2 separate regions of the Homo sapiens genome follow, and region 1 is linked to region 2. Evidence: promoter capture Hi-C in 16 types of primary human blood cells and fetal thymus (Javierre and others, 2016). All regions are on one chromosome and are shown on one strand. The core of a region is centred on a gene start or on the middle of the fragment in contact, and the rest is flanking DNA. Distances in the headings are between cores, read along the strand shown.

Region 1 (2,817 bases), core at 197-2,696, 280 kb before region 2:
ACAGAGTCTTGCTCTGTCTGGAGTGCAGTGGCGCAATCTCGGCTCACTGCAAGCTCTGCCTCCCGGGTTCACGCCACTCTCCTGCCTCTGCCTCCCGAGTAGCTGGGACTACAGGCGCCTGCCACCACGCCCAGCTAATTTTTTGTATTTATTTTTAGTAGAGACAGGGTTTCACCGTGTTGGCCAGGATGGTCTCAATCTCCTGACCTCGTGATCCGCCCGCCTCGGCCTCCCAAAGTGCTGGGATTATAGGCGTGAGCCACCGCGCCCAGCCGTTTTGTCCCATTATTTTAGATGCCAAGAACCTGTACACCCTCCACCGGTGACACCTTCACAGTTTTGAGGAGTATTCATGGGGTATTTTGTAAAATGTTTCTCAATTGGGATTTGTCTGATGTTTTTCTCATGATTAGACTGGAGGCAGCTGGGATTACAGGTGTGAGCCACCATGCCCAGTCTCCAAACCCTGTTTACACAAAAATTTTAAAAAACTAGCCAGGCTTGGTGGTGCGCGCCTGTAGTCCCAGCTACTAGAGAGCCTGAGGTGGATCACTTGATCCCGGGAGGGGGAGGCTGCAGTGAGCGGAGATTGTGCCTCGCTGGCTGCACTCCAGCCCGGGCGAGAGAGCCAGACCTTGTCTCAAAAAAAAAAAAAAAAAAAAAAAAAGCCTAATATGGCTGAGGGCGGTGGCTCACGCCTGTAATCCCAGTACTTTGTGAGGCCGAGGCGGGCGGATCACGAGGTCAAGAGCTCTAGACCATCCTGGCCAACATGGTGAAACCCCGCCCGTACTAAAAATACAAAAATTAGTTGGGTACTCGGGAGGCTGAGGCAGGAGAATCGCTTGAACCCGGGAGGCGGGGGTTACAGGGAGCTGAGATCGCGCCACTGCACTCCAGCCTGGCGACAGAGCGAGACTCCGTCTCAAAAATAAATATATACAAATTAAAAAAGCCTAATATACAAAATAAAGCTAGGAATCTTCCCTGAGTCCTCTTGCCTACGGAATGAAGTCCACAGACTTGGGGGAGCGTTCGAACCCTTCTAAGGCCACTTCCTTTCTCCAGCCTCTCGCGCCCAGTTGACTCCCGGCAACACCTCCCGCCGCCACAAGGAGACGCCCGAGGACTTCCCTCCGACAAAGCCAAAAACGGTATTGCCACGTGACCCGCTCCGCATACACGTGACCAGCTTCGCACCCGGTGGGCGTCACGTGACGGACTCAGTAGACCGCCACTGGCTGTGCACGTTATGGGGTTTCCACCTAGGGCTCGGCCTGAGGCTTGTAACACTCCGTTTTCCCCCGAGTCACAGGGGCAGTCTTGCCCCTCGCAGCTGGGTCGCGGTGTCTCTCAAAGGTCCCCCTCTACAGGGGCTTCGTGAGGCCCGGGCCCACAGGGCGCTCGGTCCCGGAAGTGACGTCTCCCAGAGGGGCCGGAAGTGGCAGTGGAGGGAGGGAAGATGGCGGAGGTGGTGAGTCCGGTGCCCGGGGCGGGGCGGAGGGAGCCAGGGGAGGTGGGTAGAGCCCGAGGCCCCCCAGTAGCCGACCCTGGCGTCGCGCTGTCTCCCCAGGGGGAGATAATCGAGGGCTGCCGCCTACCCGTGCTGCGGCGGAACCAGGACAACGAAGATGAGTGGCGTGAGTGACGTTGGGGGGCGGGACTAAGGAACCTGAGGGCGAGGGGCGGGAGTCAACTGAAATCCCGGGATGGGGAGGGGCGTCTGGAATTATGGGGCGGGCGAGGCGCAGATACTTTGATGAAGGGGCGTGGCTCTTAGCTGCTCCGAGAGGTACAGGGCGGGGCCTGGAAAGGGGTGGCACTTGTGACTGAAGGAGGCTTAGGAGAGACCTAAGTGCTGGAGCTTAGGGATCCGGCCTGGGGGTGGAGTTCAGGTCGTGGAAGGGTGGAGTCTCATAGCCTGGCCTGTCTAAGGCCCCTGTCTATGCTATTCTCATAGCCCTGGCCGAGATCCTGAGCGTGAAGGACATCAGTGGCCGGAAGCTTTTCTACGTCCATTACATTGACTGTGAGTTCTGGGCCTGAGGTGGGGCATCAGGGTAGGGTTGGGGGACAGTCTTTGGCATTCTGTCCTGAGCCATCCCCACTGCTACAGTCAACAAACGTCTGGATGAATGGGTGACGCATGAGCGGCTGGACCTAAAGAAGATCCAGTTCCCCAAGAAAGAGGCCAAGACCCCCACTAAGAACGGACTTCCTGGGTCCCGTCCTGGCTCTCCAGAGAGAGAGGTGGTGAGTAGGTCCCCCACTTCACCTTTTCTCTCCTGCCTCCTATTTCTCTTGTCTGTTGGCATTAGGAGCTCCTGGATGGGCAGGAGGCGGCTCCCTCTCACCCTGACTTCATCTTGCAAAGGATGGGGGCCAAATTGCACATGTAGCTCCCAGAGTCCAGTAGCTAGTCCTGTGTCCTTCAGAAGGCGAGGGTGGGGTTTGATAATTTTGAGGTGAGGGACCCCTCTTCCCCTTCCCCATCCCACTGCCATCCCCGCCCCAAAGGAAGACCCTGGACCTATCTCTACAGCCGGCCTCGGCGCAGGCCAGCGGGAAGACCTTGCCAATCCCGGTCCAGATCACACTCCGCTTCAACCTGCCCAAGGAGCGGGAGGCCATTCCCGGTGGCGAGCCTGACCAGCCGCTCTCCTCCAGCTCCTGCCTGCAGCCCAACCACCGCTCAACGGTACCCTCAGCAATTCCAGGGACCTTGCTTTCTTCTCAGGTCCCACCTTCTCTACCTTCTGACCCACCTTTGTTGGTTTCTCTCTGCAGAAACGGAAGGTGGAGGTGGTTTCACCAGCA
Region 2 (2,780 bases), core at 1-2,500:
GTAGAAATGCAAAATTCCAATCTTATACAAACTCTCGTAATGAAAATAAAGGGAAAACACTTTCCAACTTATTTATATGAAGCTGGTATAACCTTGATACAAAACAAAGGGTGGGGGCAGTACGGAAAAGGAAAACCTTAAACCATTTCACCTATACACCTGGATGCCAAAATACCAGAGAACCAAATCCGGCAGTATAATAACAAATCCATTGTGACTGTCTTCTTCCAGGAATGCAAGGATATCTTAACGTGAGAGAATGTTATGATACTCCACCACATTTACAGATTAGAAGAGGAAAACCATGTGGTGAGCTCAGACTGCCATCTGTGCTCCCTGGCACACACACAGGGGTGGCTGGGTGGCAAGGGGGGAAAGCGCACTGGGCCACACGGGGAAGCCCTGGTGGAAATGACCTGGCTGTAGAGGTTAGTCCTGAAGTGACAGAGGTACAGATTCTGAAGGGCCACAAAGTCTCAAGCATAACTGCAAGAGAAGCCAGTAAGTACTATTAGGCAGCCAGTCACAGGGACTGGCCATGACATCGGGACAAGGGGCTCTTACATCAGATCTCAGCTCACTCAGGGAGATCTATTCATACATGGTTGGATCCCACCATTCAGTTGGAAGAACAGAGGTGGAATCCAGCTTCAGAGAATGACATAGGAAAGTAGCATGCAGAATACAAGGACCCTACCTCCATCAGTACCCTTAGCTACAGCCCACAGAAGCTGAATGGCTGGTAAGAGATGAAGAAGTGGAAACGAAAAGGTTTTAGGGGGAAAAAAAGATGTTACTAGGTGGATCACAGTATCACTGAGAGAATGGAGAAGAACATAAGACCAAGTTTACAGATAAAACGCCAAAACACACACACACAAAGTGGGGAACAGTCAAAGGACTATTTAGAAGAAAACATATAGCCCTGAATATATTAGAAAACAAATTGAAATTAAATTAGCTAAGCACACATCTCAAGAACCCAGAATGAGCAAATAAACCCAAAGAAACGAAGGAAAAGTCCAGTAAGGAAGACCTCTTGCAAAGCTAGCCAAATAAAATACACAAAATATAAACATATTTTGTTGATTTCACCTGCCCTCACCCCTTGCCCCACTTTTTCTGGTAATAGAACCTCTCTATTCCATGGGAAACATATAAAAATTACTTGTGGCTCATCCTGCCCCACCCCAGTCCTCCACACCCTCCCACCCCCCGGCCCTGGCCACAGTGACTGCTCAAGCACAGCAAGTGACCTGAGGAAGATCAATCGCCCTTCACGGAAATACAGGGATCCTCAAGAGCCCCAAGGGGCTCTGTCTACAAGGACTGTGTATAAACTTGAGCGTCCTGGCTGGGCGCAGTGGCTCATGCCTGTAATCCCAGCACTCTGGGAGGCCGACGCAGGCGGATCACGAGGTCAGGAGATCGAGACCATCCTGGCTAACACGGTGAAACCCTGTCTCTACTAAAAATACAAAAAATTAGCCGGGCGTGGTGGCGGGCGCCTGTAGTCCCAGCTACTCAGGAGGCTGAGGCAAGAGAATGGCGTGAACCCCGGGGGGCGGAGCCTGCAGTGAGCCGAGATCGCGCCATTGCACTCCAGCCTGGGCAACAGCGAGACTCCGTCTCAAAAAAAAAAAAAAAAAAAAAACTTGAGCTTTCTACAGAAAACATCTGTAGGAGGGAAAGAAATTAATCAGCCGGGAGCAGAGATGACAGAGATAAATGAGAGAGCCTGAGGAATTCATGCTGCTGGCATTGGTTCATCCCTGCCCGATGCGCACCACTCAGAGACCTCAGGTCAATGAGCCTTGCTTACTTCTCCTAATTTGAGTTCAATTTTGTCATTTATAAGAAAGTCCCGCATACGCCAGGATGGTGGCTCTCACCTGTAATCCCAGTACTTTGAGAGGCCAGGGCAGGAGCATCACTTGAGCCTGGGAGTTCGAGACTAGCCTGGGCAACATAGGGAGAGCCTGTCTCTACTAAAAATAAAAAAAATTAGCCAGGTGTGGTGGCGCGCACATGTGGTTCCAGCTACTCAGGAGGCTGAGGTGGGAGAATCACTTGGGCCTGGGAGGTCAAGGCTGCAGTGGCGCCATGATGGCCTGGGCAACAGAGTGAGAGGCTGTCTCAAAAAAAAAAAAAAAATTACTGGGTGCAGTGGCTCACCCTTGTAATCCCAGCACTTTGTGAGGCTGAGGGGGGCCAATCACCTGAGGTCAGGACTTTGAGACCAGCCTGGTCAACATGGCAAAACCCCATCTCTACTAAAAATACAAAAATTAGCTGGGTGTGGTGGCGGGTGCCTGTAATTCCAGCTACTTGGGAGGCTGAGGCAGGAGAATCACTTGAACCCGGGAGGTGGAGGTTACAGTGAGCCGATACTGCACCACTGCACTCAAGCCTGGGCGACACAGTGAAACTCTGCCTCAAAAACAAAACAAAAACAAACAAACAAAAAAAGAAAGTTCCAAATAATACAAATATTATGCATGAACTTTTGCCCAAAAAGCTTAAATATATATGAAATATGATCCTGGAATGATACAAATGATCAAAATTGACTCAAGGATAGAAAACTTTAGACAGAACACAACTGAATAAACTAAAAGGCAGTGAAAGATCCACCCCTGAAAAAGGTACCCAGCACAGATGTTTTTGTAAACAAGTTCACAACGTTGAAGAAACAAATGCCTGGCCTATAAAGTATTCAAGCCTGAAGAAAAAGACGTCTCCAAACCCATTTGCAAGGCTAGCATAAAGCTAATCTCGAA

The links. The method cuts DNA at HindIII sites, captures the fragments that hold promoters and counts their contacts. A CHiCAGO score of 5 or more calls a contact.
Region 1: a contact is called between the fragment with the promoter of KAT5 here and a fragment that was not itself captured in region 2, in 15 of 17 cell types (naive CD8 T cells, endothelial precursors, erythroblasts and 12 more). The highest score is 10.8, in naive CD8 T cells.

The regions. Positions count from the first base shown.
Region 1 is chr11:65,710,806-65,713,622 of GRCh38, forward strand. KAT5 (lysine acetyltransferase 5) reads left to right here and starts at 1,447. Exons shown (of 13, transcript NM_182710.3): 1 at 1,447-1,640; 2 at 1,961-2,029; 3 at 2,117-2,253; 4 at 2,543-2,698; 5 at 2,788-2,817. The coding sequence starts at 1,463. RefSeq lists enhancers at 1,003-1,122, 1,153-1,462 and silencers at 1,493-1,682, 1,693-1,772. The HindIII fragment of the contact is 6,423 bases long and covers 1-2,002 here.
Region 2 is chr11:65,991,952-65,994,731 of GRCh38, forward strand. No RefSeq gene overlaps it. Among named protein-coding and RNA genes, the nearest start is that of EIF1AD, 8.8 kb to the right of the region's middle. The HindIII fragment of the contact is 2,532 bases long and covers 1-2,516 here.